3 separate regions of the Homo sapiens genome follow, and regions 1 and 2 are each linked to region 3. The links are contacts of gene promoters, found by promoter capture Hi-C in blood cells and fetal thymus (Javierre and others, 2016). All regions are on one chromosome and are shown on one strand. Each heading gives the region's core, a stretch centred on a gene start or on the middle of the fragment in contact. The rest is flanking DNA. Distances are from core to core; before and after follow the strand shown. Region 1 overlaps WAC (WW domain containing adaptor with coiled-coil). Region 2 has its middle 67 kb from the start of MPP7-DT. Region 3 holds the start of ACBD5 (acyl-CoA binding domain containing 5).

What was found. Contacts are between HindIII fragments. The CHiCAGO score rates a contact against its expected background, and 5 or more counts as called.
Region 1: a contact is called between a fragment that was not itself captured here and the fragment with the promoter of ACBD5 in region 3, in 1 of 17 cell types (total B cells). The highest score is 6.5, in total B cells.
Region 2: a fragment that was not itself captured here is called in contact with the fragment with the promoter of ACBD5 in region 3 in 1 of 17 cell types (total B cells); the score reaches 5.2 in total B cells.

What each region holds. Positions count from the first base shown.
Region 1 is chr10:28,556,441-28,560,139 of GRCh38, forward strand. The region is part of intron 3 of WAC (WW domain containing adaptor with coiled-coil); the gene reads left to right. Among named protein-coding and RNA genes, the nearest start is that of WAC, 25 kb to the left of the region's middle. The HindIII fragment of the contact is 2,148 bases long and covers 413-2,560 here.
Region 2 is chr10:28,368,658-28,372,172 of GRCh38, forward strand. No RefSeq gene overlaps it. Among named protein-coding and RNA genes, the nearest start is that of MPP7-DT, 67 kb to the left of the region's middle. The HindIII fragment of the contact is 5,601 bases long and covers 1-3,515 here.
Region 3 is chr10:27,238,130-27,242,056 of GRCh38, forward strand. ACBD5 (acyl-CoA binding domain containing 5) reads right to left here and starts at 2,668. Exons shown (of 13, transcript NM_145698.5): 1 at 2,545-2,668; 2 at 2,190-2,355. The coding sequence starts at 2,559. RefSeq lists enhancers at 1,720-2,222, 2,180-2,439, 3,890-3,927 and a silencer at 2,560-2,669. The HindIII fragment of the contact is 10,066 bases long and covers 1-3,927 here.

The DNA.
Region 1 (3,699 bases), core at 237-2,736, 1.3 Mb after region 3:
AGATTTTGGATACTTAACCCCTTATCACAAATATGGTTTGCAAATATTTTCTACTATTTTGTAGGTTGTTTTTTCGTTTTGTTGATTTTTTTCTTTTTTTCGTGCAAGAAGCTTTTTAGTGTGATATAGTCACACGTATTTTTGCTTTTGTTGCCTGTGCCTTTGGTGTAGTATTCAAAAAATTATTGCCAAGACCAAAGTCAAAGAGCTGTTTTGTCCCCTATGTTTTCTTGTGGGAGTTCTACAGTCTCAGACCTTATATTTTCAGTTGTTATTCATTTTGAGTTACTGATTGTATATGGTGTACAACAAGGATCCAATTTCATTCTTCTGCGTGCGGCTATCCAGTTTTCCCAGCAACATTTTTTGAAGAGGCTTTCCATTTCCGTTTCTCATTGTGTATTGTTGTCAAAGCTTATTTGACCGTGGAAGCATGGGTTTATTTTTGGGTGTTCTGTTGCATTGGTGTGTGTTTCTGTTTTTATACCAGAACCATACTTTTTTTATTATTACCATAGCTTTGTAAGATGCTTTTAAATCAAGAATTGTGATACCTCCAGCTTTGTTCTTTCTCAAAATGCTTAGCTATTTGTGGTCTTTTTATGTTCCCTACAAATTTTGGGAGTTTTTTTTTTTGTGTTGAAAATTTCATTGGAATTTTGATAGGTATAAGTCACGGTTATTTAAGTTGAACAGCCTTTTTCTAATAACAACTGGTAATATAGGTGTTTATATCCTGACTCAGGTTCCTGTGCCAGATTTTTAAAGATAAATTTGAGTGCCTTGTAATATTGACTAATAAACTGTTAGGCATAATTTAATGCATTTTCAGTGCCAATAAAAATCACCTTATTGAAGCAATGTGATAATATTATAAAACTGTCAATATTATACAGTGTCATTAGCTATATAAAGGATATGAGATTTTCTTTTGTATAAACAGTCAAAATTGGAAAATAAAGGAATAGTTGTAGGCTGGGTGTGGTGGATCACACCTATAATCCTAGCACATGGGGAGGCCAAGGTGGGAGGATCACCTGAAGTCAGGTGTTCAAGACCCACCTGAACATAGTGAGACCTTGTCTCTACAAAAATTTTTAAAAATCAGCTGGGTGTGGTGGTGTGCCCCTATGGTCTCAGCTGTTTGAGAGGCTGAGGCAGGAGGATTGCTTGAGCCTAGGAGGTTGAGGCTGCAGTGAGCCATCATTGTTCCACTGCACTCCAGCCTGGGAGACAGAATGAGACATTGTGTCTTTAAAGAGAAAAAGGAATAGCTTTATTAAAATGGTCCTGGAATGTGGAAAAAATGTCTTTGGATAGATTTTGATAGATGTTAAGAAAATACTCTTAGGGGTCAGGCTCAGTGGCTCACGCCTGTAATCCCAGCGCTTTCAGAGGCCGAGGTGGGTGGATCATGAGGTCAGGAGATTGAGACTGTCCTGGCTAACATTGTGAAACCTCGTCTCTACTAAAAATACAAAAAATTAGCCGGGTGTGGTGGCAGGCGCCTGTAGTCCCAGCTACTTGGGAGGCTGAGGCAAGAGAATTGCTTGAACCCAGGAGGCGGAAGTTGCAGTGAGCCTAGATTGTGCCATTGCATTCCAGCCTGGGCAACAGAGCGAGATTCTGTCTCGGAAAAAAAAAGAAAATACTCTTAGAGTCACTTGAAACACTTTGAGAAACTCCTTGTGGGTCATCTTTTGGCCTATCTCTTTCCTTATAAAATATCTACAAGAAAACTCAATCTTTAGAGAGAAAACTTTGTGAAATTATTTTTCTCCTTTTTTTTTCTGTTGCCACTTTGTTCTCTAGTGTTTAAAATTTAAAGATTTTATTGAGGAGAGTGATTTACAATCAGACCTTAAGCAGTTAGGGAGCTCAGCCTGCGGTGTTTGAGGGGAAAGCTAATATAGGGTAAATGCAGAAGCAGCGCAAAGAAATTATTTGATTTCTTAATGTTTGAGCAGTTGCCTTATTTGGACTAAGTGGGAAGTTCAAGACATTGTAACTAATACCTATTTGGCCACCTGTGATTGGCTGAGTGTGTTTCATTTTCATTAGGAAGCCGGGTTTGTTTAATTTTAATTCTTTTGAGTTATGTGTAGCAATCTATTTGTATAAATATAAATTGTAAAAAAAAATTATGTAAGTGAACCACCTGTGTTATGTTCCAAAATTTTCTATTTTTTATGTTGTTCCTCATTGCCTTCATTGTATCAGAGACTAAAATCATGGGTATTAATGAAAGCAAGTAAAATAATAGTGAGTTTGCTTTACAGTGAATCAATAAAGTCTGGTGCACTCAAGAAATTCAAGGAATCCAAAGGTGGTGCTGTCCTGTGGTAAAGATAAGTTGCAAAGAGTAGAATATAATTTTTGTGCACTGTGGGCTTTTTACTTGATACAGTTGGCTGGCCCTTAGAGGTCAAGTATTGCTTTTGATGTTATTGGAATGTTGGAAAATATCAGAAAATCCTAGAATGACGAATACGGGTAGTTCATTTGGTGCAAATCAACCCAGCTCAATTTGTTAATATAACAAATAGAATGTGTAAAATAAAGCTTTGGAGGTGGGTGTAATATTTTCCATGAGACACTTAACGTAGTACGTAAATATATCAGGCAGCCTAGTGTGTCAAGTACTGTGGGTATGGTAGACAACAGATTAGTTAAATCTCTGCTCTCGAGAAACCTGATGTGTGTGTGTGTGTGTGTGTGTGTGTGTAAGTCTGATGTTCTCTTGGGTGCGATAGTATATGAGTTGGTGATAGTGCTGTCTTGTAGAAAAATAAAGCTAGGTAAAGGAGGAAGTAGTAAGATATGCTTGGGAAGTAGGAGTTGCTTTTTTATGTAACAATGAGGAAGCTAAGCCTGTGGCTTTGGGAGTGAGGGAAGTGTGTTCTAGGCAGAGAACAGTAAATGTCCAGGCCTTATGGTGAGAGTGTTTGTTTAAACAAGTTAGCTACCAGTGTGTTTCTGGTGGGAAAGTAATGCAAGATGAGTTCAGGGAAGGAGTAACGAGTTGACCTAAGAAGGAAACGGAGGCAAAATTAATATAGAGATTTCCTTTGGACCAAGGTTGAGCACTGCAGCCCCAAAAACACTGGGAGGTGTTCTGTTTAGCATTTGTGACAAGCAAGTTTGTAAAGACAAGGAAACAAGGAGTGGGCTGATACAAGGATGTTTGATGGCAGTTCCCACTGGTTTACAGAAATAACACTGATTATTGTTATCGTTAATGATAAGGGATAAGTTAAGGTGTCCAGCATATCATTGTTAGGTTAATTTACGGCTACTTGGTGTCAGTCTAGAACCCACATAGCAAGAAACTTCAAGAGGTGATTAGTTAGCTTGAGCGGGGAGTGAGACATGACTTCGTGTCACATTTCATTGCCTCTCTGGGCCTGATGAAAGGGTTCACATTCCTCAGATAGATGTTTCTTTTCTTTCTCACAAGGGCTAGATCATGTAAGGTCTTGCAGGCTTTTGGAAAGGATTTTGGTTTTTCCTCTGAATAGAATGACTTGGATTAGGGTAATGACAATAGATGTAATGTGATTCTGGATAATTTTGAAAGAATCAACTGACTGATGAACTGGAAGTTAAGAACGAAGAATAAGGCCAGGCGTGGTGGCTCATGCTTGTAATCCCAGCACTTTGGGAGGCTGACATGGGAGGATTGCTTGAGCCCAGGAGTTC
Region 2 (3,515 bases), core at 112-2,611, 1.1 Mb after region 3:
GCTCACTGCAACCTCTGCCTCCTGGATTCAAGCAATTCTCCTGCCTCAGCCTCCTGAGTAGCTGGGATTACAGGTACGCACCACCACACCCAGCTAATTTTTGTATTTTTGGTAGAGACGAGGTTTCACCATGTTAGCCAGACTGGTCTTGAACTCCTGACCTCATGTGATCCACCTGCCTTGGCCTCCCAAAGTGCTGGGATTACAGGCATGAGTCATCCTGTCTGGCCAACTTGGAGTCTTGAATGAAAAATAAGAGATACATTTTCAAATTCATGCAAAGTGCAAGCATTTATCTTTGGTAAGCATGGGTTTGCAATCTGAAGAATCTGTAGATTTTTCAGGTGAAGATGAGCAGAGTAGGAAGCAAATATTGTACTTTGACCGATTTTTTTTTTTTTTTTTTTTTGAGACGGAGTCTCACTCTGTCACCAGGCTGGAGTGCAGTGGCACAATCTCAGCTCACTGCAACCTCCACCTCCTGGGTTCAAGCCATTCTCCTGCCTCAGCCTCCTGAGTAACTGGGACTACAGGTGTGCACCACCGCACCCAGCTGATTTTTTTGTATTTTTAGTAGAGACGGTTTCACCATGTTGGCCAGGATGGTCTCGATCTCCTGACCTTGTGATCCACCTGCCTTGGCCTCCCAAAGTGCTGGGATTACAGGCGTGAGCCACCGCGCCCTGCTGGCCAATTTGATTTTAAGCAAAAGGTTTCATTTTGTTACATACCTCACCGTGCTCTGGCCACATCCTAGAAGATGGTGACACCATAAGAAGGGGCCAGAACACATCCTGAAGCAATATACTAGTCACTGTCACCTTCACCCCCATGCCTCAGAAAGTAAATTTACACCCCACCAGGGAGCAAAATTACACTCACATACACAAAACATGAAACGCCGAAGCATCCTATTGTGGAAGTCAGTTTTAACATAAGAAGAAAAGTCTATGCCTTCAAGAAATATTTATTAGGGCTGGGCCCAGTCCCTCATGCCTGTAATCCCAACACTTTGGGAGGCCAAAGTGGGAGGATCACGTAAGGCCAGGAGTTTGAGACCAGCCTGGGCGACATAGCAAGACTCCATCTCTAAAAAAATAAAATAAAAATTAGCCAGACAGGGGCTGGGCGCGGTGGCTCACACCTGTAATCCCAGTACTTTGGGAGGCTGAGGCAGGTGGATCACGAGGTCAGTAGGTCTCTACTAAAAATACAAAATTTAGCCAGATGTGGTGGTGCGCATCTGTAGTCCCAGCTACTCGGGAGGCTGAGGCAGGAACATTACTTGTACCTGGGAGGCGGAAGTTGTAGTGAGCCGAGATTGTGCCACTGCACTCCAACCTGGGTGACAGAGTGAGACTCCATCTCAAAAAAAAAAAAAAAAAAAAAATTAGCCAGACATGGTGGTGCACACCTGTAGTCCCAGCTACTCAGGAGGCTGAGGTGGGAGGATCACTTGAGCCAAGGAGTTTGAGGCTGGAGTGAACTATGACCACAGCACTGCACTCCCTTCTGGGCAACAAACCAAGGCCCAAAGAAAGAAAGAGAAAGAGAGAGGGAGGGAGAAAGAGAGGATGGAAGGAAGGGAGAAAGAGAGAAAGAGAAAGGAAAGAGGGAAGGAGGGAAGGAAGGAAGGAATGAAGGAAGGAAGCAAGCAAGCCAGGTGGTGGGTAGTGGAAACAGTGAGTGCAAAGGCCCTGGGGTAGGAGGTATGTGCTTGAGGAACAGCAAGAAGGCATGCAGGGCTGGAGTGGAGTTAGTAACAATGAGTTCATTTCACCTGAAGTCTCCCTTTTAAGCAATGAAATTGAATGCCAAAGAAGTGAATTACCTAATTAATTGTAGCTTCTATCCAAAATGATAAGTGGTAGCAAACCTGAATTCACACCCTCAGTCCTTGGCAGAACCATGCTAAGTCTTCTGGGACTGTTGCTAGTCCATCTGGTGCCTTTGGGCAAATTAGAAAATGGTGTTCCTTCCTCCAGGCAAAGGCCGCTGCATGACCAGGTGCACTACTTGGCAGATGGTGCTTGGCCTGGACTTCACCTGTCATTTGCCCCCACAGTCAGGCACTCTCAGCTGGGCCCAAACTGCACAGCAATATGCATTGGCCAGAATCAACAGCATCTTTTCCATACTGTTATATCTCCCCTAGTATTGATCGAATCATTCCCCAAGCCAATGGTTTCAAGTTTGAACTCTTAGTTAATTCTCATCATATAGTTCATTTTGCAAGAGGTGTGCAGCACCATGCTGCTTTGAACCATTTGGTAGGTGTTGCAAATAGTTGAATGGTGGAAAAGTTGAATCTGTTTGGCCACAGATGGACTGTAAGATGTGTATTGGATTCCCTTTGCTGCTGTTAAAAATTAATGCAAACTTAGTGACTTAAAACAACACAAATTTATTATCTTATGCTTTTGGATGTCAGAACTCCCAAATTCAAGGTGTCAGGAGTTGCATTGCTTCTGGAAGCTCAGTGGGACAATTCATGTACCTGCCTTTTCTGACTTCTAGGAGCTGCCTGGATTCCTGGACTCCTTGACCCTTCCTCCAGTTTCAAAGTCAGCAATGCAGCACCGTCAAAGGGTTCTCTCTCCCTCTCTGTCACACACACACACACACACACACACACACACACACACACACACTCACCCCTGCTTTCATCATCAGGTTGCCTCCTCTGACTCAGACCCTCTGCCTCCCTCTTATAAGAACCCTTGAGATGACACCGAGTCTGCCTGAATAATCCAGGAAAATCCAGGATAAGCTCGCCATTTGAAGATCCTACATCTAAAAAGTCCCTTTGTCACATTCGGTGACAAGGCAGCGTCTGGGAATTAGGATGTGGACATCTTTCGGGGGCATTATTCTTCTGACCACAAGATATAATAAAAAAGTACACTCCCTGAGAAGGCCCCTTGTTTGACACTGTTCCTGGCCTTAAGAATTGTTTTAGATGTTCATTCTTCACCTCTTGAAGGCTTTCTGATTTTTAAAGAATTCACTGATAAAAGACAAATGCTGTTGGGAGCACCATTCATGGTAGCAAAGATATGGAATCAAACGGTGCCCATCAGTGGTGGACTGGATAAAGAAAATGTGGTGCATATACACCATGGAATACTATGCAGCCATAAAAAAGAATGAGATCATGTCCTTTGTACAACATGCATACAGCTGGAGGCCATTATCCTAAGTGAATTGATACAGGAACAGAAAACCAAATACCACATGTTCTCACTTGTAAGTGGGAGCTAAACATTGGGTATATGGGGACATAAAGATGGCAACAATAGATGCTGGGGACTACTAGAGAGAGGAGAAATGAGGAGGGCAAGGGTTGAAAAACTATTGGGTGCTATGCTCACTACATGGGTGATGGGATCAACTGTACCCCAAACCTCAGCATCACACAATATACCCAGATAACAAACCTGCACATGTACCCCCAAATCTAAAACAACAGTTGAAATTTTTAAAAATTAAAAAAATAACCCAAATGCTTCTGGGAG
Region 3 (3,927 bases), core at 1,418-3,917:
AGAGACGGGGTTTCACCGTATTAGCCAGGATGGTCTCAATCTCCTGACCTTGTGATCCGCCAGCCCCGTGATCAGCCCGCCTCAGCATCAGCCTGCCTCGGCCTCCCACAGTGCTGGGATTACAGGCGTGAGCCACCGCACCCGGCCGATAGGGTATGTTAACTTTGCAATACTTTCTTAAATGTTATGTACATACAAACTGTACTTTATACAGGTTTCCTAATAAGTGGTACATAATGTCAACAGGCATAGTGGCCTAGAGACATCAGTCTAGCTTTACCAATTTTCAAAAAACTATAAAAACGTGTGCTTTAGAAGAAAGTATAAACATACTACTTACATAAAACTCTTAGAATCATACCTTTCTATAAACACTAATAATTAGGGACTTAAAAAATCAATACCTAAATAAGTTCATGCTTTTTTTTATATTTTATTTGTTCTTTCTTATCTTTCAGTCCCCCATATGCCCTCCTCCAATAGAATGTTTGAAATTACAAAAGGTTCAGACAACACCATAGAAGGAAAGAAATTACAAATGGAACACTATTTTGTGTATATTTGTTTTTAAAAATTTCTGAATCTGCATTTAATGAATTTTTATTGAATGATGTGTTGAATATTTGTTACCTATAATTATTGAAATTATTGATAATTAATGATAATTAATGAAAACAGAAATCATGATATTAAATACTATAGTAACATATTATTGTTGTATTCAGTTAGTTTTACAACTGTGGCACAGTAGTAGCACCTATAATTACTTTCTAAATATGTTTATTGGGCCGGGCGCGGTGGCTCATGCCTGTAATCCCAGCACTTTGGGTGGCCCAGGAGGGCAGATCACCTGAGGTCGGGAGTTCAATACCAGCCTGACCAACATGGAGAAACCCCGTCTCTACTAAAAATACAAAATTAGCCGGGCATGGTGACGCACGGGTGTAATCCCAGCTGCTGGGTAAGCTGAGGCAGAAGAATCGCTTGAACCTGGGAGGTGGGGGTTGAGGTGAGCTGAGATTGTACCATTGCACTTCAGCCTGGGCAACAAGAGCGGAACTCCATCTCTAAAGAAATAAATATGTTTATTGTGAAATATAATTCATATAATGTAGAAAGATATGAATTGAAAAGTACGTCTTGCTTCTAAGACTCTGCATTTAGAACAGAGAAAAATATTTAATGGCCAAAAACTTCACATTGGTCTATGACATAAAATTACAAATTCAAAAAGCTCTGCAAATCGTGAACAGGGTTAATATGAAGAAAAACCACATCTACTAGTCAAATTGCTGAAAACCGAAGATAGAAAAGAAATCTAAAAAGCAGCCAGAGAAATAGCACATTAAATACAAGAAGGAGATCAGCCACTGGAATGACTTTTTTCTCACCAGCTGCAAAGAAGGTCCAATATGAGTATAAAAAAGAACATTATACAATGGAATAGCAAATAAAAAGGTAGAAAATATATATTTATTAAAATAGAAATTACTTCACAATTGACTATAGTTATTCTTTCTTTTCTGTCCCTTCATATCAAAAGTTTTCAAAACGCTTAAGCTGGTAGACCCTATGAGTGTGTGGCATTAGGCATCCCCAGCCTAGATTTTTGTTTGTTTGTTTGTTTGTTTGTTTGAGATGGAGTCTGGCTCTGTCGCCCAGGCTGGAGTGCAGTGGCACGATATCGGGTCACTGCAACCTCTGCCTCCCGGGTTCAAGCAATTTCCCTGTCTCAGCCTCCCGAGTAGCTGGGACTACAGGCGCACGCCACGAAGCCTGGCTAATTTTCGTATTTTTTAGTAGAGACGGGGTTTCACCATATTGGTCAGGCTGGTCTTGAACTCCTGACCTCAGGTGATCCATCCACCTCGGCCTCCCAAAGTGTTGGGATTACAGGCTTGAGCCACCGCGCCCGGCCCGGATTTATTTTTTAACACACCCAAATCCGCAGTCATTAAGTGACAAGACTTTTGTTTTCAACAATATGAAGTACTTAAAATCTGGATATTAGATTTTTCTCCGGTTTGGAAGATCAAAAGGTAATTAATTCATATTCAATAGCTCCCCTTCCACTACATGGCTCCTACACAGAAAAAAAGGCTAAATAAACAACACTAGAACCAGAAAGTGAAAGGGGGCTTTGGGGCTCTCTGCAGGAGGCGTCTACAGCCGGGGCCCAGCGCACGTACCATTCTTCGGCAAACTCTGGATCACCTTCACGGCCGCCTCAAACCTAGTCTCGTGCACGGATCTCGTGTCCGCCATCTCCAGCTGCCAGTGTTGGCCCCGGTCCCAAGGTCTGTCGGCGGGAATCAGGCAGCAGCAGCACCAGCTTTCCCAAGAGCCTGCATGAAACTGGAACATGGAGCGCAGCCGCGGATCAACATGCCCCAAAAGGAGGAGGCCCGGGAGCGAAGCGGGTCAGTTCCCCTTTGCCCTGCCCTATCCAGGCCACACAGATCGAAGCGGCCCGGCTCCTTCCTCCTCCCCCGGGGCGTGACTAAGGCCACGAATCCGGCCCGCGACGACAGCAAAACAACTCACCGAGAGGAAGAGCATGTCTAGCAGAAGACAGAGGGGGTCCGGGCATCGGTGGCCGCGGAGCCGCTCTCCCACCCTGGGGACCCTGGCGGAGCAGCCACACCCCCCATTCCGCCGGAGTCCGTCTGTCAGTCCGTGCCCTCCCCACAGCCCCGCCCCAGAGTCACCGGAGGACCCACTGGCGCCGCCGCCGCCGCAGCAGCAGTGCAGCAAACCCCACCCACCCGACCCGCCGCCGCGGCAAGGACGCGCGCGGTCCGTCTGTCCCCAGAGGAGGGTCCGGGAAGCGGGGAAAGGGGGCCACAGTCCCGGCTTGGTGCGGGGAGCACACTGTGCGCGCTTTTGTTCAGAAGGGGGAAACCGAGGCCGGACCGATGTGTCCGCTCTGGCAGCCGGGTGGACGAAGTGCGCGCTGGGGATGCGCGGTTGGGTTCTGCACCTGGGCCCAAAGCTGCACGCGACGGCACCGCTGGGCAACAAAAATGACTCTGCGGTCCCCAGCGCCTGCACTCTCCTAAGTTAAGGTTTGAGGAAGTTAAATGGGGCCTAAGCAAAGGGCTTTAAGTCGGGACAGGTTCTGTGAGAAACTCCAGTTCTGCCATTTAAATTATGTGACCTAGGGCAAGTCACTTAGCCTTTCCAGTGGCAATCGTGACACCCACTCTAAAGGGTAGATGGAGAAAAGCATTGGGGACCTTGGATGGAGGTGCTCAGCAGTCCCTGGCCCGCAGGTCTTCGACAGTTTTCGCTGCCCTGAGCCAAGAACGTCCGAGGAGCAGCCGAAGGAGAGAGGAGGTCGCCGGCTCCTAAACTGGGCTGGGACGGAGGGCAACTTCCCCTACACTACCCTTTCCACCCAGCCCCAGGGAGCCAGGCACCTCCAGCGGGATTTAATAGGAGACTGGGCATGGGGACGGCCGGGCACAGTGGCTCACGCCTGTAATCTCGATACTTTGAGAGGTCGAGTGGGGAGGATTGCTTGAGGCCAGGAGTTCAAGACGAGCCTGGCAACATGGCGATACCCTGGCTCTATTTAAGAAACCAATAATTAAAAAAAAAAATAAAAATAGGATACTGGGCGTAGAGGGCGGGGCCAATGAGGAGTCTTTACGGGTCGTCAACCCTAGAAAGGGGGTGCCCTGGGCCTTCAACTTACTAGCGCAACCCCCTGCGTCCTTAGGCATTTGGGAAGTGCCCCAGGCCGAACGTTGGTGGTGGGACTGACTAGGTTGTGGGGGGTGGAGTCCTGTAGCCCGGAAATCCCAAAGTCTCCCGGATGGAAGAGTCGTTTTTGTCAGTTAGGGGGATGGGTTAGGAGGGTTACTAGGAAAAATCTAGGCGCAGATCGTAAGTTACTCTTCCCTCTGAGCCGCGGCGCCGGCATTT